Linked DNA regions of Homo sapiens: all the other regions are linked to region 1. Evidence: promoter capture Hi-C in 16 types of primary human blood cells and fetal thymus (Javierre and others, 2016). All regions are on one chromosome and are shown on one strand. Each heading gives the region's core, a stretch centred on a gene start or on the middle of the fragment in contact. The rest is flanking DNA. Distances are from core to core; before and after follow the strand shown. Region 1 holds the start of IRAK1 (interleukin 1 receptor associated kinase 1). Region 2 holds the start of UBL4A (ubiquitin like 4A). Region 3 holds the start of MIR6858 (microRNA 6858). Region 4 holds the start of DNASE1L1 (deoxyribonuclease 1 like 1). Region 5 holds the start of FLNA (filamin A). Region 6 overlaps FLNA (filamin A). Region 7 overlaps TKTL1 (transketolase like 1).

What was found. The method cuts DNA at HindIII sites, captures the fragments that hold promoters and counts their contacts. A CHiCAGO score of 5 or more calls a contact.
Region 2: a contact is called between a fragment that was not itself captured here and the fragment with the promoter of IRAK1 in region 1, in 11 of 17 cell types (total B cells, naive CD8 T cells, non-activated CD4 T cells and 8 more). The highest score is 15.5, in total B cells.
Region 3: a contact is called between a fragment that was not itself captured here and the fragment with the promoter of IRAK1 in region 1, in 1 of 17 cell types (monocytes). The highest score is 11.2, in monocytes.
Region 4: a contact is called between the fragment with the promoter of DNASE1L1 here and the fragment with the promoter of IRAK1 in region 1, in 8 of 17 cell types (total B cells, monocytes, naive B cells and 5 more). The highest score is 9.6, in total B cells.
Region 5: a contact is called between the fragment with the promoter of FLNA here and the fragment with the promoter of IRAK1 in region 1, in 4 of 17 cell types (M0 macrophages, total CD8 T cells, non-activated CD4 T cells and 1 more). The highest score is 7.6, in M0 macrophages.
Region 6: a fragment that was not itself captured here is called in contact with the fragment with the promoter of IRAK1 in region 1 in 3 of 17 cell types (monocytes, naive CD4 T cells and total B cells); the score reaches 7.6 in monocytes.
Region 7: a fragment that was not itself captured here is called in contact with the fragment with the promoter of IRAK1 in region 1 in 5 of 17 cell types (monocytes, naive B cells, total CD4 T cells and 2 more); the score reaches 10.4 in monocytes.

The regions. Positions count from the first base shown.
Region 1 is chrX:154,018,652-154,022,220 of GRCh38, reverse strand. IRAK1 (interleukin 1 receptor associated kinase 1) reads left to right here and starts at 2,319. Exons shown (of 14, transcript NM_001569.4): 1 at 2,319-2,544; 2 at 2,623-2,790; 3 at 2,893-3,024; 4 at 3,143-3,246; 5 at 3,434-3,569. The coding sequence starts at 2,409. It overlaps MIR718 (microRNA 718), which reads left to right and starts at 2,232; the gene lies at 2,232-2,301. It overlaps MECP2 (methyl-CpG binding protein 2), which reads left to right. Exons shown (of 3, transcript NM_001110792.2): 3 at 1-648. RefSeq lists enhancers at 1,200-1,269, 1,385-2,354 and silencers at 2,040-2,419, 2,770-2,869, 2,880-2,949. The HindIII fragment of the contact is 4,941 bases long and covers 1-3,144 here.
Region 2 is chrX:154,485,673-154,489,241 of GRCh38, reverse strand. UBL4A (ubiquitin like 4A) reads left to right here and starts at 2,627. Exons shown (of 4, transcript NM_014235.5): 1 at 2,627-2,705; 2 at 2,909-3,014; 3 at 3,263-3,471. The coding sequence starts at 2,658. It overlaps SLC10A3 (solute carrier family 10 member 3), which reads left to right. Exons shown (of 2, transcript NM_019848.5): 2 at 160-1,931. The coding sequence starts at 302. The coding sequence ends at 1,735. RefSeq lists enhancers at 2,024-2,083, 2,421-3,179, 3,180-3,569 and silencers at 2,344-2,603, 3,094-3,243. The HindIII fragment of the contact is 182 bases long and covers 1,753-1,934 here.
Region 3 is chrX:154,449,698-154,453,266 of GRCh38, reverse strand. FAM50A (family with sequence similarity 50 member A) reads right to left here. Exons shown (of 13, transcript NM_004699.4): 9 at 3,532-3,569; 10 at 3,336-3,384; 11 at 3,168-3,238; 12 at 2,948-3,058; 13 at 2,613-2,843. The coding sequence ends at 2,835. It overlaps MIR6858 (microRNA 6858), which reads right to left and starts at 2,947; the gene lies at 2,881-2,947. The HindIII fragment of the contact is 4,829 bases long and covers 1-3,569 here.
Region 4 is chrX:154,407,214-154,410,782 of GRCh38, reverse strand. DNASE1L1 (deoxyribonuclease 1 like 1) reads left to right here and starts at 1,529. Exons shown (of 8, transcript NM_001303620.2): 1 at 1,529-1,671. The HindIII fragment of the contact is 12,936 bases long and covers 1-3,569 here.
Region 5 is chrX:154,372,962-154,376,530 of GRCh38, reverse strand. FLNA (filamin A) reads left to right here and starts at 1,897. Exons shown (of 48, transcript NM_001110556.2): 1 at 1,897-2,025. RefSeq lists silencers at 1,811-1,950, 1,961-2,020, 3,563-3,569 and an enhancer at 3,110-3,159. The HindIII fragment of the contact is 17,250 bases long and covers 1-3,569 here.
Region 6 is chrX:154,355,028-154,358,338 of GRCh38, reverse strand. It overlaps FLNA (filamin A), which reads left to right. Exons shown (of 48, transcript NM_001110556.2): 28 at 1-140; 29 at 716-905; 30 at 1,065-1,088; 31 at 3,267-3,311. Among named protein-coding and RNA genes, the nearest start is that of FLNA, 18 kb to the left of the region's middle. The HindIII fragment of the contact is 1,643 bases long and covers 429-2,071 here.
Region 7 is chrX:154,325,050-154,328,618 of GRCh38, reverse strand. TKTL1 (transketolase like 1) reads right to left here. Exons shown (of 13, transcript NM_012253.4): 10 at 3,197-3,280; 11 at 932-1,028; 12 at 661-780. Among named protein-coding and RNA genes, the nearest start is that of TKTL1, 31 kb to the right of the region's middle. The HindIII fragment of the contact is 6,606 bases long and covers 1-3,569 here.

The DNA.
Region 1 (3,569 bases), core at 1,070-3,569:
CAGAAGGGAGCTGGCTCCAGCCTGGAAACCTGTCTGAGGTTGGGAGAGGTGCACTTGGGGCACAGGGAGAGGCCGGGACACACTTAGCTGGAGATGTCTCTAAAAGCCCTGTATCGTATTCACCTTCAGTTTTTGTGTTTTGGGACAATTACTTTAGAAAATAAGTAGGTCGTTTTAAAAACAAAAATTATTGATTGCTTTTTTGTAGTGTTCAGAAAAAAGGTTCTTTGTGTATAGCCAAATGACTGAAAGCACTGATATATTTAAAAACAAAAGGCAATTTATTAAGGAAATTTGTACCATTTCAGTAAACCTGTCTGAATGTACCTGTATACGTTTCAAAAACACCCCCCCCCCACTGAATCCCTGTAACCTATTTATTATATAAAGAGTTTGCCTTATAAATTTACATAAAAATGTCCGTTTGTGTCTTTTGTTGTAAAAATCAAGTGATTTTTTCATAAGGTTCTTTTACTATTGGAAAAGATGGGCAGCACGCAGTTTTATTTTATTTTTGTAAGTTTTTTAATACATGTGAAAGCAAAGAATACTCAGCATGCCTTTCTAAGTGACGCGTTTGCACCTTTTGTTGGGAAGTACTGTATCCTGTGCTGTTAGCATTCTCGATAAATCTCTCTGTGAAAGTGACTCAAGGTCTGGGCTTTCATTATAAGACAGAAGTCCCCCTCCAGCTCACATGACAGCATGGTGCTGCGTTTCCTCATTGGATCTGGCTGTCCCTGGACACAGGTAGCTGCCTTCAGGCCTGCCACGAGCGGCCAAGGGAAGCCTCCTCCATATGCTGGCCTCGCTGGCCCCTCAGCTTCTTCCAAGCCAGTGCTCTCCAGGCACACTGCTCCAGCGTGTGACGGGAAGGGCCTGGCATGAGTCAGCCTGCAGCACAACCTCCCTGCTCCAGACCCGTATGGTAGGGGCACCCCCTAGGTCTGGATGTGCTGTGGTGCTTTTGGACACCCCCACCCCCGCAGGCTGTGGCTCCTCCTGTGTCTCATTCTGGCCAGGACCCTCACGTGCCCTCTGTTGACTGCTAACGTGGTTCTCTGACCAGGCAAGGGCAGGCTGAGGGGTTTGCCCAAAGGGGGCCCCCTTGTTACTGGCTTCCTTGGCTCTCAGGAGCAGCCTCACCAGGTTGGTAAGGGGCTGGAGGAGACAACTGCTCAAAGGAGTCCAGCTTCACATGCACATGCTAGAAGGTACCCTCGGAAGGCCTGGCCTTCAAAGGTAGATCCCAGGGTTGAAAAGTCAACTTGTATGCATTGAGCATCTCGTATGCCAGCCCTGTTCCGTGAGCTGATGGGCCTTTGTGTGTAAGTAGGACCAAGTGCCCCCGTGGAGGTTAGCATGGGTGTGCAGTCATTTCAGATACTTGAGTTGGTACATCTCAGTAAAGTCTGTCCCGTGAGAAGCCATGGGTTTCATGGTATGGTTGGCATCTTCCTTGGGAGTGGCCACAGTGGTGGTGGCTTCAGGAAAGAGACTCCAACAGGGGCCAGCTGTGGGCCTTGGGCACTTCTCGTTTCTAGGAAAAGTCCTAAGTCTGTAGGGCTAGGGGTGGGGAACCCCTTCGCTGTCAGGATCAAGAGGGCAAGGGGAACTGTCGCTGGAGGAGACATCCAGCTGGAGAAACAAAAGAGTAAGTCTGCGTTGCTGCTTGTGGGGTCTTCCCCATCTCAGGGCGGGGACCGGGGGTGGCGGTCCAGACAAGTAATCAAGGACGATGCCCAGGAGGGGACAGGTACGGGGTGGCAGGAGCTCTGCCGGCGGGCTCAGGAAGCCTTCACCACAGCTGCCTGAGCTCACCCTTGCCAAATGAGGGCTGGGGCAGCAGCAACGCATACACTCACGGCTGTGGCGGGCAGCGTTCTCGGCATATTTCAGGACACCTAAGGAGACTGAATGGCTCAAGGCTGCTGCCGTGTGCAGGGGGCTAGACGTGGGGCGGGCAGGCAGGGCTCCTGGTAACAGCCCTGCAGGCCGCAGTGGAGAGCAGGGTTCCGGCAGGGCCGCCCAGGAGCTTTCGGAAGGCCCGGCCCCGGCCCCTTTCCGAGCAGCCCGGGCCTCCGCCCTGCCCTCTGTCCCCAACGCCGGGAGCCGCCGTTCGTCCTCCAGAGCCCCGCCCGGGCGAGCCCGGGAGGCCGATCGCCGCTCGCGGAACCCGCCGGGACCCGGGCCCTCCCCGGCGCGGGGCGCCCCCGTGTGACCCAGCGCGCGGCCGCGGCGCGCAAGATGGCGGCGGGCCCGGGCACCGCCCCTTCCGCCCCGCCGGGCGTCGCACGAGGCCGGCTCGAAGGGGAAGTGAGTCAGTGTCCGCGGACCCGGCCGGCCCAGGCCCGCGCCCGCCGCGGCCCTGAGAGGCCCCGGCAGGTCCCGGCCCGGCGGCGGCAGCCATGGCCGGGGGGCCGGGCCCGGGGGAGCCCGCAGCCCCCGGCGCCCAGCACTTCTTGTACGAGGTGCCGCCCTGGGTCATGTGCCGCTTCTACAAAGTGATGGACGCCCTGGAGCCCGCCGACTGGTGCCAGTTCGGTGGGTGGCGGCGGGCTGCCGGGGGGCGGGAGGCGCGCGGGCTCCTGGCGCCGACGCCTGACGCCCCCCGCCCCGCAGCCGCCCTGATCGTGCGCGACCAGACCGAGCTGCGGCTGTGCGAGCGCTCCGGGCAGCGCACGGCCAGCGTCCTGTGGCCCTGGATCAACCGCAACGCCCGTGTGGCCGACCTCGTGCACATCCTCACGCACCTGCAGCTGCTCCGTGCGCGGGACATCATCACAGCCTGTGAGCGCGGGACTCCGGGCACCCCACGGCTGGGAGGCCGGCGGGCCCCACGGGGCTCCCCCACCCGGGCCTCAACCTTCCTTTCCTTCCTTGGCGTCCCAGGGCACCCTCCCGCCCCGCTTCCGTCCCCAGGCACCACTGCCCCGAGGCCCAGCAGCATCCCTGCACCCGCCGAGGCCGAGGCCTGGAGCCCCCGGAAGTTGCCATCCTCAGCCTCCACCTTCCTCTCCCCAGGTAAGAGGGCCCGGTTGTTAGGCTCGGTGGACCCAAAGAAGAGCCCACCTTGACCACGGCCACGGCTGTAGACCCTGCTGCTGGTCTCTGCCTGCCTCTCACTGGTGTCTTTATGAAGCTTTTCCAGGCTCCCAGACCCATTCAGGGCCTGAGCTCGGCCTGGTCCCAAGCCCTGCTTCCCTGTGGCCTCCACCGCCATCTCCAGCCCCTTCTTCTACCAAGGTAGGTGTCCCCTGCCCCCCAGGGAAGATTCGAGACAAGGAGGAAGGAATTCAGCCTTTGATGTAGCGCAGAGCCCCAGTCAGCCAAGCTGGGTCAGCTGGGAGGCAGCTGTGGTGGGGAGAGCCTGGAGCCTTGGGCAGAAGGGAAGAGACAGGGACCCCACCTGATCCAGGCTCTCTTCCCACAGCCAGGCCCAGAGAGCTCAGTGTCCCTCCTGCAGGGAGCCCGCCCCTTTCCGTTTTGCTGGCCCCTCTGTGAGATTTCCCGGGGCACCCACAACTTCTCGGAGGAGCTCAAGATCGGGGAGGGTGGCTTTGGGTGCG
Region 2 (3,569 bases), core at 594-3,093, 470 kb before region 1:
GTCCCTGCTGAGTTTTACTCTTAGCAGTGGGCTTCCAGATCCCCATGCTCCTGGGTTCTTGACTGCCTCCCTCTTCAGAGGTAAGACACATGGCTGGACCAAGGCCTCCAGGGTAAGTGACCCTCACCAGCTGCCTCTCTGTGTCCCTTACCTCCTCAGGGACAGCCCTGCCATCAAGGAAGACAGCACAGGACTGGGACCCACCCATGAACCCTTCTCAGGACAACCCAACAGCACCAGTGGGGATGTTCTCCTAAGCCGCAGAGGGCCTGGGCACGCCATCCGTCCTCCAGGAAGAGCCATGGTGTTAATGCAGGACAAGGGCAGCTCTCAGCAGTGGCCTGGTCTGGGGGGCGAGGGTGGTGGCACAGGTCCCTTAAGCATGCTCAGAGCTGCCCTGCTGCTCATCAGCCTGCCATGGGGGGCCCAAGGGACAGCCAGCACCAGCCTCAGCACTGCTGGGGGTCACACCGTGCCACCGACTGGGGGCCGCTACTTGAGCATTGGAGATGGCTCTGTGATGGAGTTTGAGTTTCCTGAGGACAGTGAGGGCATCATCGTGATCTCCAGCCAGTACCCAGGCCAGGCCAACAGGACGGCGCCTGGCCCCATGCTCAGGGTCACCTCCCTGGACACAGAGGTGCTGACCATCAAGAACGTGAGTGCTATAACCTGGGGAGGCGGGGGTGGCTTTGTGGTGAGCATCCACTCAGGCCTGGCTGGGCTGGCCCCACTCCACATCCAGCTCGTGGACGCCCATGAGGCCCCGCCCACACTGATTGAGGAGCGGAGAGACTTCTGCATCAAGGTCTCACCTGCTGAAGACACGCCTGCCACCCTCAGCGCCGACCTGGCCCACTTCTCGGAAAACCCAATCCTCTACCTGCTCCTGCCTCTTATCTTTGTCAACAAGTGTTCGTTTGGGTGCAAAGTGGAACTCGAGGTTCTGAAGGGGCTCATGCAGAGCCCCCAGCCCATGCTGCTGGGCCTCCTGGGCCAGTTTCTGGTCATGCCCTTGTACGCTTTCCTCATGGCCAAGGTCTTCATGCTGCCCAAGGCCCTGGCTCTGGGCCTCATCATCACCTGCTCGTCGCCTGGCGGCGGGGGGAGCTACCTCTTCAGCCTCCTTCTTGGAGGGGACGTCACCCTGGCCATCTCCATGACTTTCCTCTCTACGGTGGCTGCCACTGGCTTCTTGCCTCTGTCTTCGGCCATCTACAGCCGCCTGCTCAGCATCCATGAGACGCTCCACGTGCCCATCTCCAAGATCCTGGGGACCCTGCTGTTCATTGCCATCCCCATAGCCGTGGGCGTGCTGATCAAGTCCAAGCTCCCCAAGTTCTCCCAGCTGCTGCTGCAGGTCGTCAAGCCCTTCAGCTTTGTGCTCCTCCTGGGCGGCCTCTTCCTGGCCTATCGCATGGGGGTCTTCATCCTGGCAGGCATCCGGCTACCCATCGTACTGGTGGGTATCACGGTGCCCCTGGTTGGCCTGTTGGTGGGCTACTGCCTAGCCACGTGTCTGAAGCTGCCAGTGGCCCAGCGGCGGACGGTCAGCATTGAGGTAGGGGTGCAGAACAGCCTGCTGGCCTTGGCCATGCTGCAGCTATCCCTCCGCCGCCTTCAAGCTGACTATGCCTCCCAGGCCCCCTTCATTGTGGCGCTGAGCGGCACCTCCGAGATGCTGGCCTTGGTCATTGGCCACTTCATCTACAGCAGCCTGTTCCCAGTTCCCTGAGGCCTCTGGGTCAAGCTTTCATCAGCCCCAGCCCCCACACTCCACCAAAGTTCTCATGCACTATGCACTCAGAAAAATCCAGGCTTATTTTTTTTACTGATTTTTTATTCTCCAGCTTTCAGTGCCAAAGAGGCCATGCTGAGTTAGGTAGGTGGGCGCTGCCCAGAAAATATATTTCAATAAAAGAGAGAAGCAAGCTTGGGTCCCTTCTACTCTTTGCCCTTTGGGGCCTGGGCGTGGGGGTAGAAAGAGTGTGCTGGGTAAGTGTGGACCAGGGTGGAGGGCCAGCTTGGGTGACACGGTGACCCCTGCATAGGCTTTCCCTATCAGCCCTCCCCGGGGGTGTCCCCACTCTGGGAGAGGTGGGAGGATGAGGGCAGAGGCGTAGCCCCCCTGCCCCCTCTCAAGCTCAGTGGAGCGTTTCGCAGCCAGACCAGAAAGGAGGAGGTAGGAAGCCACCAGACAGGGAGCGGGGGCGGGCCGTCTGTGGGTATGCAGGGCCAGGCGCCGCCAGCAGTCCTGGCGCGTGAGGTGGGCCAGGCAGTCCGCGGGGGCGAGCGTACCTTCTGGCCCTCCCTTCTCCATGTCCCAGCTCCCAGATGACGCCAACCTGGCCCGACTGGTTCCTGCTCCCAACTCCCCCGCGTCGTTGCTTTGGGAGGGGTCCGCCGGCCAGGGCGGTCGATGCGCGCATGCTAGGCGGGACCCCGGGGGGACTCCTCCCGGGGCGCAATTGGGCCGGGGGGCGGGGCCGGGGCGCGGACGGGGCAGGAGGGCGGGGCCGGGAAGCGCGGGCGGCGGGCGCGCCCCTCTCGCTGCTTCCGGCGGCGGCGGGCGGTTCCAGCGCGCGCCCGGGGCGGCGGCGCGCGGCGGGGGGTGGTTGGGGTGCGCGCCGGCCCGAGTGGACGCCGTCGCGACCGCCATGCAGCTGACGGTGAAGGCGCTGCAGGGCCGCGAGTGCAGCCTGCAGGTAGGGTCCCCGGGCCGGGCCGCCGGGTCCGGCGCGCTCTCTCGCCCGCTCCTGGCAGGGGGACCGGCAGGGCCGAGGGCGGGCACGGGGCGGCCGGGCCGAGGGCCGGGAGCCGGGAGAGCTGCCCTCGGGGGCGGACGCGTGGGCTTCGCCGTCTGGGGGCCGCGGGCTCAACCCTTGCCTCCCACCCTCCGCGCGGCCAGGTGCCAGAGGACGAGCTGGTGTCCACGCTGAAGCAGCTGGTCTCCGAGAAGCTGAACGTCCCAGTGCGCCAGCAGCGGCTGCTGTTCAAGGGCAAGGCCCTGGCAGGTACCCAGGGAGAGGAGACGCCCGGGGAGCCCCGCAGGAAGCGGGACCGGGGTGCGCGGGCCGAGGCCAGCAGCCGTGTGTCGGGTCGGGGTGCGGGCGCCAAGCGCCACATGACCCCAAGGGAGGCGGCCGCATGCCTCACAGCCGGATGCCGCAGCGCTCCGCTCCCGCCGCCCGAGGCGGCCTCGCGCCCCGGGCCACCCCCACGGCGGTGGAGGAGGAGGAACCCATCGATCTGTCTTTGGCAGATGGGAAACGACTCTCGGATTATAGCATCGGGCCCAACTCCAAGCTCAACCTAGTGGTCAAACCCCTGGAGAAGGTGCTACTAGAAGAAGGCGAGGCCCAGAGGCTGGCCGACTCCCCACCCCCGCAGGTCTGGCAGCTGATCTCCAAAGTCTTGGCCCGCCACTTCAGTGCGGCAGATGCCAGCAGGGTCCTGGAACAGCTACAGAGGGTGAGAAGGGTAACCCTGGGCATCCTCTTCAGGCCCAGTTGCTCCCAGCCCCTACCTCTGTTGCAGTGTATGCCCCCCCACCACTGGCAGCCCCTGAA
Region 3 (3,569 bases), core at 1,070-3,569, 430 kb before region 1:
GGTCTCCTTTTGGGGATGAAAATGTTCCAGTAGAGAGAGGCAATGGTCACACAACAATGTGAATGTACCAAATGCCACCAAATTGTAAACTTTAAAATGGTTAATGGCTACTTTTCTGTTATGTGAATTTTTCCTCAGTTGAAAAAATTAAAAACACAAAGAAGAAACAAAACCCCATGCTGAGAAACCATGTCTCCATCTCAGCTTGGCACGCGTCTCCTGGCGGCGAGTGAGGGCACTGTGTGGGCAAGGCTGGGGGAGCCGGCCCTCATCCTGCCCATGAGGCTGCCAAGTGGGCAGGCCCTAAGGAGTGGAGTTGGCCAATATCTGCCATGCTGACTCTGCAGCTGAAGAGAGAATGAGGGTCTCTATGCACCCATGTGGAAAGATGCCGAGTATTGGGATATATCGCTAATGGACACTATATCACACGGTGTCGAACAGCATGCAAGCGCAATACCTTTCATGCGAGAAAGGTGAGGGCCAGGAGGAGCAGCCGTAGGAGCTTGTCTTTGTCTAGAGAAAGAGAACAGGTAAGCAGGCAGTGAAGAAAAGCACATCTCTGTTGGGGACATTGCAGGAACTGGCTTCCATGCTGACATGGGAACCGCCTGAATACATGGCTTCTGCTGGACAGTGAAGATGAGGGAAAAAGGTAGCTTCCCCTTGTTCCAGCCCAGCTCACCTTTTTTCTTTCTTTTTTTTTTTTTTTTTGAGACGGCGTTTCTCTCTTGTCATCCAGGCTGGAATGCGGTGCCGTGATTTCGGCTCACTGCAACATCCGCCTCCCGGGTTCAAGCGATTCTCCTGCTTCAGCCTCCTGAGTAGCTGAGATAACAGGCACCTGCCACCACGCCCAGCTAATTTTTGTATTTTTAGTAGAGACGGGGTTTCACCATGTTGGTCAGGCTGGTCTCGAACTCCCGACCTCAAGTGATCCACCCGCCTCAGCCTCCCAAAGTGCTGGGATTACAGGCATGAGCCACTGCACCCGGCCTCCAGCTCACTTTTGACCCAGACTTGGTGTTCCCTCTGCCTGGAACACTCCCTCCCGCATCGGAATGGCTGACTTCTTGTCATTTGGATGTCAGCTTAAATGTCTCCACGCCACAAAGGCCAGCTCATCTTGTTCTACATTTTGTTTTGTTTGTTTCCCTCTCTGTTTTCTACACACACAGCCCCCAGGAACGAGGCCCGGGTGAGCAAAGTGGGTGACCACCCCTGGCACACACTGATCCTTGGTGACCTTATCTGGTTCCAGAGCATCAAATAGCCTACTCAGCCAAACACAGTGGCTCACACCTGCAATCCCAGCAATTTGGGAGGCTGAGGTGGCAGGATCACTTGAGCCCAGCAGTTCGAGACCAGCCTGGGCAACAGAGCAATATCCCATCTCTACAAAAAAAATTTTTTTTTAATTCTGTTCCAATTTTCATGTACATAAAAATAAAAATAGCTGGGCATTGTGGTGCACACCTGTAGTCCCAGCTACTCAGGAGGCTGAGGCGGGAGGATCACTTGAGCCCAGGAGGTGGGGGCTGCAGCGAGCTGAGATTGCACCACTGCACTCCAGCCTGGGAGACAGAGCAAGACCCAGTCTCAAAAAAAAAAAAGAAAGAGGAAAGGAAGGAGAGGGGAGGGGAGGGGAGGGAAGAAAGAAGGAAGGAAGGAAGGAAGAAGGAAGGAAGGAGGGAAGGAAAAGAAAAGAAAGAAAACATTAGTCTACTCTCATCTCTATTCCTAGTGACGCCAGGTGGCTACTTCCCGGCCACGCTGAATGAGACACTGGGCCTCTGCACTATCGGGCACCATCAGATCTCCACATTTGCCAGGAAGGGGAGGCCAGACCCAGGGCTGGGGTGATCCTGGCCAGTGAGGGGCTATCCCCTGCCCTTTCTTCTTGGCTTCAGGCCAGGGGAGGAAACAGGGAGCTGTCAGCTGGCCTTCCTCAGCCTCCTGGAGCCAGGCCTGCCTGCCTCAGCTTAGCCAAGTGGAACTTGGGGAATCAGCTGCTGAGGTGGCAGAGTAGGGGTCCTGGACCTACCCCCGATCTGGATCCTGCCCCAAGGGCTGTCTGAGCAGGGCTAGCTAGGGCAGGGCAGGCAAGTGTCGAGCACAGGGCACCACAGCAGAACGACTGTGCTGGGACGGCCCACAGCAAGGAAGGCAGGATGGGTTTTCGTGGCCACAGGACGGCCACGTCCCCTACGGGAAACTCAACAGGAGCCCAAGGGCCTGGGAGAGAGGCCTGGGGAGGAACCCCCTTCCCACCCACCAGAGCCACCACCGCCCAAGGACAGGTGCCCACGGTCAAGAAGCACAGTGCCACAAAGACACCTCAGGGATGGTGGGGCTGCCACGGTGACAGACTCCCCAGGCACGTATGACACGTCCAGAACAGGTCAATCCATGGAGACAGAAAGCACATGAGAGCCTGGTGGGGGGATGTGAGGGGAGGAGCCTGCCTATGGCCACAGGGCCTTTGGAGGGATGAGAATGTCCTGGAAGCAGACCAGGGTGATGACTACACAACATGGCAAATGTGCTAAATGCCACCAAATTGTACAGTTTTAAATGGTCAAAATGACAAATGAATTTGGTCCGAACACAAATGGTTTCTCACAATGCAGGCGCTCCAGCTCTGACACGTGCACTTCTTTATTGGAAAAGAATAAAGCAGTCACTGATGTGGCAGGGGCAGGACACGAGCAGCTGCCGTCCTCCTCCCAGCGTGCCTGGCATGGTCGCAGGGGAGCGGGTGCCTGGAGTCCCGGTGACACCACGGGGCACACTGAGGGAGCTGAGGAGCCGGGGCCGCGCAGCCTCCTGGATGCTCAGCGGATCTAGTGTGAGGACAAGGTGGGCAGAGGAGACAAGGAAGGCGAGGGGTGAGCAGGGGCTGGCTGCCGTCCCCAACTTGGAGGGGTCCCTGCCAGCCCCTCCTCACCGTGTACTTGTCCCACTTCTTTTCAGGGTCGTAGGGTTCCCAGCGGCTGGCGGGAAAGATGTGCTTGTTCTTCTCGTACCAGCTCCTCAGCACCACCTTGCCTGCATGGGACTAAGGGAGGAAGAGGGCACAGGGCCGCCTGCTGACCTCCCCTTCCCTTGGCTTCTCCTCCATAGCCCAGGGACACCCGTTCCCCCTCACACGGCCCCCTACGCTGTACCTCATCCTTCTCCACAGTGGCGTCACTGAGCAACCGCACATCGTCATGAACATCAAAGTTGAAGAGTGGTCCTGCAGGGGAGAAGTGACAGCCCAATGTCCCGCTGCTGCCCCAGTGACAACATCGGCGGCAAGGTGCTATGGGGGCGGCTGGGTCGGCGGCACTCACCACTCTTCCCCCGTGCCTTGGTGACGATGAAGTCGTAGAAGCTGTGATGCTGGGAGCCAAGGGCAGGAAAGCGGCGTCTTGATGGTCCATCTCGGCCCCTCCCCACACCCCCCGCCTGCGCACACTGCCCCCACCAGCCTGAGCCAAAGCCCAGGGTGCTGCACCCACTGCGGGTACTGGGGCTGAAGGGACTCACGTGAGGGATGATCAAGTCCTCCTTGATGTACATGAGCT
Region 4 (3,569 bases), core at 280-2,779, 390 kb before region 1:
CTCAGCCTCCTGAGTAGCTGGGACTACAGGCGCAGGTCGCCACGCCCGGCTAATTTTTTTTTTTTTTTGTATTTTAGTAGAGATGGGGTTTCACCATGTTGCCCAGGTTGGTCTCGAACTCCTGAGCTCAGGCAGTCCACCCACCTCAGCCTCCCAAAGTGCTAGGATTACAGGCATGGGCCACCGCACCCGGCAGTTTTTTATTTTTATTTTTATTTATTTTTATTTTTGAGACAGAGTCTTGCTCTGTTGCCCAGGCTGGAGTGCAGTGACGAGATCTCAGCTCATTGCAACCTCTGCCTCCCAGGTTCAAGCGATTCTTCTGTCTCAGCCTCCTGAGTAGCTGGGATTACAGGCGCAAGCCACCACACCTGGCTAATTTTTGTATTTTTAGTAGAGGCTGGGTTTCTTCATGTTGGTCAAGCTGGTCTCGAACTCCCGGCCTCAGGTGATCTGTCTGCCTCTCCTCCCAAAGTGTGAGTCATCCTACCTGGCCTGTTTTTTATTTTTAAACCATAATTTATTGATTTTTTTTTTTGAGATGGAGTCTCGCACTGTCGCCCGGGCTGGAGTGCGAGTGCAGTGGTGTGATCTCGGCTCACTGCAAGCTCCGCCTTCCAGGCTCAAGCAATTCTCCTGCCTCAGCCTCCTGAGTAGCTGGGATTACAGGCGCCCACCACCACGCCGGGCTAATTTTTTGTATTTTTAGTAGAAACGGGTTTCATTATGTTGGCCAGGCTGGTCTTGAACGCCTGACCTCGTATCCACCCGCCTCAGCCTCCCAAAGTGCTGGGATTACAGGCATGAGCCACCACGCCCAGCCCATAATTTATTGATTTTTTAAAATTTGTCCAGCCTTCTATTACCACGTCGAATCCATTAGCTACAGCCATCCCATGAGAAGCTGAGTGGATTCAGCCCCACCTCCTGCTCACAGACCCTGTCCGAGCACCTCATTTGTCCCAACAGCATTACTGCAGGACCCCCAGGACGTTGGACTGCCAGCTCCCTGGGTCTCCTCCTCTCTGGGGCAGATCCTCAGTCCTCCCTTGACTTCACGACTGTGGCCAGATCATGTGTGGACTGTCCCTCTCTTTGGGTCTCCAGAGCGCTTGCATCAAACACCCCTAACTCAGAAGTGTGCAGCCACACTGGGACTCAGAACCCAACAACAGGGACAGAAGACTCACGCCCTTGGGGTGCCCGGTCTCGTGGCATCAGGCATGACTTCCAGCTCCTGCGCCTTCCCCAGCAACTGCTGACTGGGGACCCAGACCGGGAGCTGAGCGACGGGCCTGGCGAGCGAAGCTCGGGGTCTCACTCAGGCACCAGCCCCTCCTTGCCCCAGGCTTGAGTGACTCACAGGTCTGTCATGTCCCGCTGGCCCGGGAAGGCGGGGTCTGGGTGGGAAGGTGGGCGGGCAGGTCAGCAGTTCCCAGGCCTGGTGCTGGTCCTCCTTGTTGGCGGCGAGGCGGAGACGGGGCGGGCCTGCCTGTTGGCAAGGGTGGGGCGTCCGGCCCAGCCAGGCCCTTCCTGGCCGGGTGGCTCAGGAACACAGCCTCTTCCTCTTTTTTTTCCCCTCCTAGCCCTATTCAGGCAGGAGCTGCTCTTCTGGGGTATCGCGATCCACTTAAGGATGAGGCAGACTTGGTGACAAGCTGGTCTGAGCAGGTATGGGAGCCCCCTGGGGAGACGGAAGAAGGGAGGAAGTTGCCTTCTGCCTGGGGAGGGTTTGAGAGGGAGAGGGAAGCCTAGGGCTCCCACCAAGGCTGATATTGACAGCCAGGGTTTGGGGCTGAAGCCAGGAACCGTCGCTCTCTCTGGTTCTTACTGGTAGCCCTCATGGGGGTCCCTGACGCCAGAGCCTCCAAGGCTGCATGTGCCAGCCCAGGGCTGCCCACATACCCATGTATATCCCAGAATAGGCACCAGGGTAGGGAACCCAAACTAGCATGAGTGACAGAGCAGGTGGTCAGGGAGAAACAGACATCAAACCCAGCCAGGAGAGAGACACCGCAACAGAGAGACAGAGAAGGGAAACCAGAGACGAGAGGGAAAGTGAGACAGAGACGGACAGAGCCTCAGAGAGGTAGGAAGTGAGCCCGAAGGGAAGGTGACAGGTTGATAGAGAAAAGCAGGCAGACAGAGCAGAGGAACTCATGCCTCAGGATGCAAAAGCCACATGGACAGGGCGTGGAGCAAGGAGCCGAGCCCTGCAAGGTCAGGTGAGTGTGAGACAAAGATAAACTGAGAGAGGGGGGCTCCAGCTGGTGAGATGAACAAGAAGGGCTCCCCAGTGGTGGCAGGGGCATGGGAAAGAGTCCCCATCACAGGTTGCAATGGGGATGATTTGGCCATATCTGAGACCTTTTAAAATGCACACACCCTTCACTGCCGGGAGTTTATCTTAAAGAGAACATCTCACAAGTGGGGAGACAGAGATGAACGAAGATGTTCCTGTAGTTGCTAATGGAGGCGAAAAGCACTGGGGTCTTGGAACAACATGGTGAAACCCCATCTCTCCAAACAAATTTTAAAAATTAGCTTGGTAGCCGGGCGCGGTGGCTCACACCTGTAATTCCAGCACTTTGGGAGGCTGAGGTGGGAGGATTACTTGAGGTCAGGAGTTTGAGACCAGCCTGGCCAACATGGTGAAACCCTGTCTCTACTAAAAGTACAAAAATTAGCCGGGTGTGGTGGCACGTGCCTGTAATCCTAGCTACTTGGGAGGCTGAGGCAGGATAATCTCTTGAGCCTGGGAGACGGAGGTTGCAGTGAACTGAGATCAAGCCACTGCACTCCAGCCTGGGAGACAGAGTGAGACTCCATCTCAAAAAAAGAAAAAAAAAATTAGCTTGGTGTGGCAGCATGCACCTGTAGTCCCATCTACTCGGAAGGCTGAGGTGAGAGCATCACTTGAGCCTGGAAGGTGGAGGTTGCAGTGAGCTGAGATCACATTACTGCCCTCCAGCCTGAGCAACAGAATGAGACTATCAAAAAAAAAAAAAAAAAAAAGGGGGGGGGCCGGGCGCGGTGGCTCACGCCTGTAGCCCCAACTACTCAGGAGGCTGAGGCAGGAGAATCACTTGAACCCGGAAGGCAGAGGTTGCAGTGAGCCAAGATCACGCCACTGCACTCCAGCCTGGTGACAGAGCAAGACTCCATCTCAAAAAAAAAAAAAAAAAAAAAAAAAAAGGTAGACTAGGCCAGGCGCAGTGGGTCAGGCCTATAATATCCCAGCACTGGCTGGGCGCAGTGGCTCACACCTGTAATCCCAGCACTTTGGGAGGCCAAGGCCGGCTGATCACCTGAAGTCAGGAGTTCGAGACCATCCTGGCCAAGATGGTGAAACCCTGTCTCTACTAAAAAATATAAAAATTAGCTGGGCGTGGTGGTGGGTGCCTGTAATCCCAGCTACTCGGGAGGCTGAGGCAGGGAGTTGCTTGAACCCAGGAGGCTGAGGTTGCAGTAAGCCGAGATCACGCCACTGCTCTCCAGTCTGGGCGACAGAGTGAGACTCTGTCTCAAAAAAAAAAAAAAAAAAAAAAAAAAAAAAAAAAAAAATCCCA
Region 5 (3,569 bases), core at 648-3,147, 350 kb before region 1:
CCTCAGAGAGTTTCCCGTCAAGGGTAGGGTGGGATTTGCAGTCATCAGAGGGTCTGGGAAGGGCGTGTGCAGGAAAATCTGAGGGCCTCAGGGGGTTCTTCCTGGGAAGTGCAGGCAGAGGAGACATCGGGATGCAACCAATTCTAAGTCAAGAATAAGAAAACTGAGTTGCTCCTTAAGGATGGAATGGCTTGCAAGCAGTATATGCTGTATAACTTACAATCCCAACATGATTGAGTTACGAGGAAAAAATATCAACATGGAAACATTCCTCAGTGTCTATGACAAGTAGATGATTGTTCACTGAGCTGTTAACGTTATTTTTTTATTTGTATTTTTATTTTTATATTTATTATTTTTTTCCAAGACACAGTCTAGCTCTATCACCCAGGCTGGAGTGCAGTGGCGCAATCTCAGCTCACTGCAACCTCCGCCTCCCAGGTTCACGCGATTCTCCTGTCTCAGCCTCCCGAGTAGCTGGGATTACAGGCGCCTGCCACCACGCCCAGCTAATTTTTGTATTTTTAGTAGAGACCGGGTTTCACTGTGTTGACCAGGCTGGTCTCAAACTCCTGACCTCGTGATCCACCTGCCTCAGCCTCCCAAAGTGCTGGGATCCACCACGCCCGGCCTTTTTTTTTTTTTTTTTTTTTTTTTTTGAGACGGAGTCTCTATCACCCAGGTTGGAGTGCAGTGACGTGATCTCGGCTCACTGCAACCTCTGCCGCCCGGGTTCACGCGATTTTCCCGCCTCAGCCTCCCGAGTAGCTGGGATTACAGGCGCCTGCCACTGCGCCCGGCTAGTTTTTATATTTTTAGTAGAGACGGGGTTTCACCATCTTGGCCAGGCTGTTCTTGAACTCCTGACCTCGTGATCCACCCACTTCGGCCTCCCAAAGTGCTGGGATTACAGGCATGAACCACCGCACCTGGCCTTTTTTTTTATGTTTAGTGACAGGGTTTCACTGTGTGACCCAGGCTGGAGTGTAGTGGTGAAATTATAGCTCACTGCAGCCTCAAACTCCCGGGCTTAAACGATCCTCCCATCTGTCTCCTGAGCAGCTGAGACTACCGGTGCACGTCACCACGCCCAGCTAATTTTTATATTTTTGGTAGAGATAGTGTCTTGCTGTGTTGCCCAGGTTGGTCTCAAACTCCCGGGCTCAATTAATCCACCTGCCTCAGCTTCCCACAGTGCTAGGATTATAGGCATGAGCCACCATGCCCGGCCAATGTTTTCTTTAAGATCAGAATCTTCTTAATACTAAACAAACTTAACTTTCTCGTCCCCCTGAGCGATCCTGTTTCTGCTGCCCACCCCAGGCCAGACCTGGCAGCGCCTGATCCATGGCAGTCAGGTTCATCCCAGGGCTCGGAGCCCTGCAGTCCCGTCCCGGGGCCCTGCCTGACGTAGGCGCCCAGCCAACACCTGCAACGACCTGTTGCCCCCACCCCAGGAAACAATCCCGGCTTGGGACAGACACCAGGGGCTGTGACTGTGGGTGGCTCCTTGGAGAAGGTGGCCTTGGGCCTCGGCCTTTCCACCTGGGGTGCGCTTGGCTCCCCCAGACTCAGACACGCAGGATCCTTGTGATTGGGCCTAGACACGAGCCCTGCAGTCCCTGTGGGCGCTGGAGGCGACTCCCCCACGAAGCCCTCCCTCCCCCAGGGCCTGGCGGCCCTCGCCGGCGGTGAGCTCATCTCGGGGGGCGGCGTCGCCCGGCGGCGGGTCGCTGGAGCTCACGGCGTGCCCCCGCACCCCCGCCCCCCACGCACCCGTCCCGGGCTCCTGGGCAATTTTACCAATTAAGGCTTTCTCGCCGGGCCGGGCCGGGCGCGGGGCGGGCGCGGGGCGGGGGTGCGGCCAACAAGAAGGCGGGCGGCGGCGGCCCATTCGCGTGGAGGCGCGTCGCGCGCAGCGGACGCCGACAGAATCCCCGAGGCGCCTGGCGCGGGCGCGGGCGCGAAGGCGATCCGGGCGCCACCCCGCGGTCATCGGTCACCGGTCGCTCTCAGGAACAGCAGGTGAGGTCTCCGCGGCCCGGCTTCGCGCCGTAGGGTCGCCGCGCTCCTCGTCGGCCGGGGGCGGGGTTGGAGAAGGCGGGCAGAGAGGCCGGAAAACGCAGGCGCCAGCTCGCGCCCAGGTCCGGGCCAGGTTCAGCTGGGATGCGTGAGCCGATGGAGGCTCCCCTGGCATCTGGGAGTGAGTGTCCAGAGAATAGCTTCCCTAGTTGACCCACGAGCCATGTCTGTGCCCACGAATGTGGGAGCCTGAGGCCATGGGGGGTCCCCGAGAGAGAGAGGGTGTCTGGGCACTTGCCCATGAACGGACCACTGCATGCCTGAGAGAGAAGGGCCCTGACACCAGGAACTTGTGTGGACTCAGGGCGAGTGGCCACCTGGAAGGACACTTCTCAGCCAGTGTGCCCACTGGGAGGGGGACAGCGTGTCCCTTGCTGGCTCGAGTCCACAGGGCACCAGCTGCTTTGGGCACAGGGGAGCTGGTTCTGGGGCTGCTCTACTCCATGGGGGCCATGGTGAGGATGAGACCAGGCCAGGTTCCTTGGTTGGGCCCTGGGCCCTATGCCAGGTTGGCTCTGAGTTGGATGCGCACTGCCAGCCAGGATATAACCAACAATGTCCCCAGATTCCCGTGCCACCTGGGGCCAGGCAAAATAGGTTAAAATCCACTGGCAGACCCATTTGTAAGTGCTCCGAGTGCACCGTCAAGGTGGGAGCTTGGGAATGGGCGACCTCACCTGCCGCACCTGGACTTGCCAGCACAGGTCTCTTCTCACCTTGCCAGTCTGCGGCTTCCTTCCCTCCTGCGCCCCCTGGCTACGCAGGCCTGGAAACAGCTCCTTAGGGATCCCAGCTGAACAGCTCCTGGGCTTGGGCTATACCTCCCAGTGGGAGGGTCTGGCCTGGGGTCTGAGGGCCAGGGGTGGTGTGGTGGGCGGGGTGTGCCTAACATCCAAGAATCTACTCCAAATAAGGGAAAATATGAAAGAGCTGGATTTTGGCTTCCCAGGACTGCCCGATCTGGTGGCTTTGGGATCGGGCGACATCTGGCGGTTGATACTATGTTCTAGGGACAAGAACCCTCTACACGCCCATTCCTTGTTTCCTCTAAATAGGGAAAAGCTAGGGCTGGAAGACACGGCACCCACCTCCTGACACTCTTTCTGCTGGAATTGACCACTGGTCACTCTGACTCAGTTTCCCTGAGCTCTGAAGATTAAGGAATGAACCCAGACAACCCAGCTCAATGGCCCTTAGTGGAGAGAGAGTCAATTATTGATGGAATTCCGTGCCTGGGAACTTGCTTTCCAGTGGGGCAGGGGGACCAGAAGGACAACTTCAAGCCCGTCTTGAATGGGGCCCGTGCAGGGAGGGGTCTGTATGGGTTCCCCCTTCCCAGCCCTCCCTCCCACCTCCACCCCAGCTCCCAGACGCCCAGGCGCACTTGGTGCAGGTGTGTCTCAAAGTGGTCAGGAGAGGGGACAATATACAGGGGTTGGCCTCAGTACTGGAAAATGCCATTTGCACCCCCTAACACCACTACTAGT
Region 6 (3,311 bases), core at 1-2,500, 340 kb before region 1:
TGCTGCCTACTCATGATGCCAGCAAGGTGAAGGCCAGTGGCCCCGGGCTCAACACCACTGGCGTGCCTGCCAGCCTGCCCGTGGAGTTCACCATCGATGCAAAGGACGCCGGGGAGGGCCTGCTGGCTGTCCAGATCACGGTGAGCTCCGGGCACAGGCAGGGGAGGCAGGGGGGCCTGGGCGGCTGGAGTGTGGGCTGCGGGTGGCTGGTGTCTGATCTCCCTGCGGAGCTGCACCAAGGAGGGCAGGGAAGGACAGGGCCCCTGTCTTTGGTTTGCTAAGGTTGTGACTACCTTAGGATGGTGGTGACAGGCACAGGCTTCCCCAGACGTGCACTTGCTGCTAACTTTGAGCACGTCACCAAAGCCTTCTGTGCCTCAGTTTCCCCACCTGTAATATTCTCATGGGGCAGGTATAGGATAGAAGCTTGAGATCACCCCGGTGAGCTCCTCCTAGTGCTGGCCAGGCCCTGGGGCTGAGGATGGGTGCCAAGCTGGCTGGCCGCGCCTGTTGTCATGTGGGAAGTGTGGGATGTTTTAGTCTCCATTCTGGACTCTGCCAGGTGCAGGCAGCCCTTTTGGGCCATAGCAGTTAAGATGCCTGAGGCCCAGAGACTGTCCCTGTAGCAGCAGCGCTGGGCACTCTGGGAGCGCCTGAGGCAGGCCCGGGGCTACTCGGGCTTGGGCCAACTGCCTCCCCTGCCTCTGCCACACAGGATCCCGAAGGCAAGCCGAAGAAGACACACATCCAAGACAACCATGACGGCACGTATACAGTGGCCTACGTGCCAGACGTGACAGGTCGCTACACCATCCTCATCAAGTACGGTGGTGACGAGATCCCCTTCTCCCCGTACCGCGTGCGTGCCGTGCCCACCGGGGACGCCAGCAAGTGCACTGTCACAGGTGAGCCCGCCCGCTGTTGGCCGCTGCGGCGCTCGGCACGGGGCTTGGGTTGTGCCTGTGTGCAAGGGCTCGCTGCTTGGGGCGGCGTGTGGGAGTGGGGGCCGCCCCCTTGAGTGACTCACCTGACCTTTCTCCTTGCTCTCTGCCCTCTCACCTCAGTGTCAATCGGAGGTCACGGGCTAGGTAAGCTGCTTGCTGGGGCCACTCCCAATGCCCCTCCTGCCCAGAGGGGCAGCTTCCTTTCCTCTTGGGGCCGATTCCCAGGACAGTTCCAGCTGCAGCTCTAGGCAGGGACAGAGTTGGGTGGGGTGCAGAAGATGAGGCCGTGGGCTGGAGGGCGAGGGCCCAGGGAGGCTTCCGGAGCTGAGCATGACCGCTCCAGCTCTTCCCCTCTCTGGGCCTTTATTTCCCCATCTGAGAACTCGGGTTGCAGCTGAGAGCTTTGGGGTGAGGTGCATCCTGAGAGGCACCCCACTGGGGACTTTGGGGTCTCGGGATCTTGGCACCCAGGGAGGCACAAGGGCTCCTGCGTGGGCTGAGGGAACAAGGGGTCTCCCCAACTCAATGGGAGCCCCAGCCCTGGCCAGATCCACAGACCCCCATCCCCACCTTCCAGGGGCCTCTGCGTCCCGGGCCGGGGGAGGTGCATGAGCGGGTGGGGCTGGCTGGTAGTGCAGTAGCGCCAGTGTCGACTGCTTGGGCGGCCAGCATGGCGGGGCCCGGCCCAGCCTCAGAGCCCCAAAGTGCATTCTGTGGCCCGTCTCCCTCCTTCCCCCTTCCCCTATCCCCCAGCAGTGACGTTATTCAGACATTCCCCAACAGGCATGGAGGGTCACCTGCCCCAGCCAGGGACACCCAGGGATGCTGATGAGAGGCTACAGGCCTGGCACTTGGGCGAGGTGGCTAAGGAAAGGGTGAGAGGGTGGCTAGAGTTTTGCGGCAGGAGCGAGATGGCTTTATAGAGCAGGCCGTAGGATCCGATGTGTGTGTGACAGGCGTGTGTGCGCAGGGCGGGGGAGGCTGGGGAGTACTGATTGCAGGGCCTTGGGGGCTTTGAGGGTGGGAGCAAGACTCAGTAACCTCAGTTTCCCTGGCTACTGTTTGCAGAATGGAGACAGGGAGCCCGGGGTGGGGAAGGGGGCGCTGAAGTTGCTCTCTGGCAAGCTTGACGGCCACGGGGCTTCAGTGAGAGCCAAATTAGGAGGCATACTTTGAGGATGGAGTGGCTGAGACCTGCGGTTGGCTGGGAGCCGGGCAGGGAAAGTGGGGGCAGTCGGGTACCTGTGAGGTTGGGGCCCAAGCCACTAACTAGATGGCATGGGGTGCACATGAGTGAAGCCTCCCAGGGCAGCGTGGGCAGCCGGCAGCCAGGTCTGGAGCCTGGGAGAGCTGCCTGGCCGCGGCAGGCCAGCATGGAGCCTAGTGCAGCAGGAGCCCTCGGCCGATAGTGGGACTTGGTGGCAGGGCCCCTCGAGCTTGGCCTTCAAGTAGGTTTCGTGCTCCTGGCTGCTTCCCTGGCAGGAGGCCAGGCTGCAGGGGGCACTCTCACTGCCAGGCCTCACAGCCCACAGCCCCCCAAGCCTCCACGGCGGAGACCCAGATCATAACGTCACTGTCTCTCCCCTTTCCTCGGGCACTCTGGGGCCCTGGAGCCTGCTCAGCTGCTCTGCCCTCGCAACCCAGCAGTGGTGGCTGTAGCTTGGGCCTCCTGTTCCCTGTCTCCCTGGGTGCTATCCCCGCTCTGCCAAGCCTGCTGCGCTGCGCTACTCGGGTGCTAACCCCGCTGCCTCCCGCTTCCCCGCTCCCACTCCTGTCTGCACCGGGCTGCTTTTCACCGCGAGCCTTCTCAGTTGTCAGGAAACTCCGGTTTCACCATCAGGCCTGGGGGGTGGGGAGGCAAGTGTCACATCCCCCCACGCTGCAGCAGGACTCCGCCTCACCGCGTCCACACACAGCAATGGGGGCCGGGGCCAGGCCAGAAGGGCGCAGGCAGCCGTGTGCCCAGCCAGATGCTGGCGTTCAGCAGTGTGGGCCATGGTGCTGGACGAGGCTGAGTAGGCAAGGGAGTGGCTGTCAACACTTAGGCTGGAGTGGGCCCTTCCTTTTCCTCCCAGGCACCTGGGTGCTACTGTCGGGCCTCTCCCACATGGGCACTTGAGGTGGTCAGGAGAAACCTTCCTGCCTTCTGAGAAACCACTCGCCATCCCAGCTTGGAGGGGCAGGGCGGGGCAGGAGGCCTGGCGGCCTGGCTGTGCTTGGTGGTGGCAATGAGAGGCCTGTGTGGGCGGCAGGCGGACGGGAACAACCTGAACCCGAGCTCACACGCTGGCCCCCCTTTGGGGACCCACCCTGCCCCACCAGGTGCTGGCATCGGCCCCACCATTCAGATTGGGGAGGAGACGGTGA
Region 7 (3,569 bases), core at 409-2,908, 310 kb before region 1:
CTATACCTGCTTTCGTCGGGGCACACTTTTTTTTTTTTTTTTTTTTTTTTTTTTTTTTTTTTTTTTTTTTTTTGAGGCAGAGTCTCACTCTGTTTCCCAAGCTGGAGTGCAATGGTATGATCCTGGCTCACTGCAACCTCCACCTCCTGGGTTCAAGTGATTCTCCTGCCTCAACCTCCCAAGTAGCTGGGACTACAGGCATGCACCACCACACCCAGCTAATTTTTGTATTTTTAGTAGAGATGGGGTTTCACCATGTTGACCAGGCTGGTCTTGAGCTTCTGGCCTCAAGTGATCTCTACCTGCCTCGGCCTCCCAAAGTGCTGGGATGACAGGTGTAAGCCACCACGCCTGGCCTGGGGCATACTATTCATCATTCCAAACCCAAAGAAACTGCGATGCTTTTCATGACACCTCGCTTGCCTGCAATAGCCACTCCTCTGTGTTGCCACTGACCCGCCCTGGTGACTGGGCACTGTGCACTCTGTTGGGGACACACAGATGTGTATGAGTATGGCCCCACGCTTAGTGAACATCAAATAACAAAGCCATGCTGGGTGAGAGGTAGACTATAGGTGATGCCTGAGAGCATGCCATGTGGCCAATCAAGGAAACAAAAACACCAAAACCTTCCAAAGCATTCTCAATGCCCACACACACCTTGCGGGTAGTGATCCTCCACTGTAATGATCCGGCCCTCTGTGGCTTTTGCACTGGAGACGATGGTGGCGACATCCAGAGGTTTAATGGTAAACAGGTCGATGACACGGATAAAAATATCTGCAGAACAGCAAAAACCAGCTTGGTACAAGAAAGAGACTCAGAATAACATGCAGGGATAAAAATAAAAAGAGCACTCAGGGCACAGGAGGTAGCTGAAGTCCTACCTCTTCCCAGCTTGAACTTCAATGCTCATACTCAACCAACTGACCTTGTTTCGAAAGCTCATCAGCAGCTGCTAAGGCTTCATACACAGTAATTCCAGCTCCAATAACTGTGACCTTGTCACTGACACAGTGGCGGAGGACCTGGTATAGTGCCAGCAAAACAGAATGCCGTGGTTACTACACACAGAATGCATGTCAAAGTGGAAGGCACTTTGCTATGCCGCTATCCCCCAATTCTAACAATTTCACTCCTTAATAACTCACTACTAAAAAAATCAGATGCATTTACAAGCCAGGACACATACTTTTTGATAGGAAATTACACTGCTCCAGCTGTCCTGGAGCATGGATACGCCACATACCCATCAGGAGTCTGGTTTGAGAGCTCACTATGGCATGCAAAGATTGGACTCCAGTGACTAACATGTTAATGAGAACATTCTGGGCATTGGCAACACGCTGAGTGCTAAGATCTTGTGTGCCTGAACTCTGAGAACCCTCACAGCCTCCCTGTAAGATCTGTTCAGTGGCACAACCGTTCTGCAGCTGAGGAAAGCAAATCTCAGAGCAGGAGGAAGTGGCCCAGGGCAGGGCTGGGACCCACAGCCAGGCGGGGCTGACATCAAAGCCCTCGCTCTCGACAACGTACTATTCTGCAAGCAAAGACAGAGTTCCTGGGCTTCTTTCATAGATTGTTGCCTCCAAAGCTACCCATCGGAGGCATCTGGAATTATTCTCCACTTCCCCTCTGTATAGGTTTCCCTGTAGCTTAAGAACCATTGCTGATAGTACAGAAAGGGTTTCTGAGCCACCCCATTCTTTAAGGATGTCCTGGCCTCTTAAAATACTTATACACGCATGCACACATATCCATGTCCTCTTTTCAAAGCCCAGCCCTTTAACGATCCATGCCATGCATGTTATCACACACATTTATCTCACATCCTTTACTATCAGTAAATTTACTTGCTTTTGTCAGGACAGGAAAATTATTAGAAAAGAGACGACAGAAATAAGCAAGCTCTGCAAACCATGTGAATGTCAAGAGACCCTCCCCATAGAAACAGAACCTGTAGTTAACACCAAAGGTGAACACTAACTTTTCCATTTGGTGGCGTTTTCCAGCTACGTTATGGCACACAGTGGACAGTTCTGGAAACACCTGCTTTATGGCAGCACTCTGGCCATTCTGAGTACTTGCAACTGTGAATTCTGGAGCAGCCTAGTCCTTAGCAACCAAATTGGATGTTACCTGCTGCTCTTTCAAGAGTGGCTATGGGCAAACCTTTCTATTCAGTATGATCTCAACTGTGTAAAATATACATGTATGCCTAGAACAAAGACAGGAAGGAAGCATGCCAAAATGTCTACAAGCCCCACTCCCTAGGTGATGAGCAGAGTCACTTATTTTCTCCATAGACGTTTCTGCTTTTCTCTATGCATGGCCCTGACAGGCAGGCTGAGCAGGGGATGGTCAGCGTGGTGGGCAGACCTGGGGAGACTGGGCTCACTACTCAGGCCTGGATTCTGGTCTTGGTACTCACAAGCTGTAAACCCTTAAGTAAGACACTTACTTTCTCCAATCCTCATCTACAGATAGGACTGATAATCTGAACTTCTCAGGGCTTTTGTGAGAATACCAGAGATCATGTTCCCTTTTATTCCTGGCCTTAGATCTGTAAAATCTGAACCTAACAGATTATTCATTTCAAGTGATTTCTATTATTTTTTGTCTTGTTTTTAGAGATAGGGTCTTACTCTTGTCACCCAGGCTGGAGTACAGTGGTGTGATCCATCATAGCTCACTGCTGCCTTGAATTCCTGCGCTCCTCTATCCTCCTTCCTCAGCCTCCTGAGTAGCTGAGACCACAGGTGGATGCCACCACACCCGGCTAGTTTAAAAAATTTTTGTAAAGATGGGAATCTCGCTATGTTTCCCAGGCTGCTCTGGAATTCCTGGCCTCAAGCAATCTTCCCGCCTTGGCCTCCCAAAGCGCTGGCTTCTGTTTTGTTTAGCTTGCGGCCAAGATAAATTATAGCCACGACCGCTCAAGTGGCTTCATGTTACTATCTTTGAACTCAACAACAACAAAAGACTCCATTTGGAAAGCAGAAAAGTTCAGGCTAAGCTGAAATTCATAGAATGTTCCTTCCCAAGGAAAAGCAGGTAAAGGTCACAACTGTTTTTTAAAAAAATGAGAGCAAAGAAAGGATGATGTCTCAACTCTGAAGATAGCTGGTGATAGATTCAGAAGTGTTCTTTTTACAGGAGATGATACTGAATAACGCAGGAGCGCGTAAGCCCTTACCTTGGCCTGTCCGATCTCAAAGCGTTCTTGTGGGGTGTAAATAACCATAGTTTCTGGTCGGGTGGTCCGAATGAAGCACATCCCCTAGGGCATAAATGGAGCCATGGTTTAGAAAAGCAAACAATGAATTTCCAACAACAGACGTTGAAAGAAGTGAAGGAGGGGTGTGAAGAGGACAGCTCTTTCTACTAAAAACACAGGCTTTGGAGAAAGGGGTGAGCATCTACAACCAGTGGACGACAGGTCCCAGCAGGACCTTGGGGCTGCCCTGAAGGACAAGCTCCCCCATGCCATCACACCAATCCCCTTGGAAGATTCCCCAATACTCACTGACTTGTTCTGTGCAGACAGAACATTAACTCACGGCAGGAGC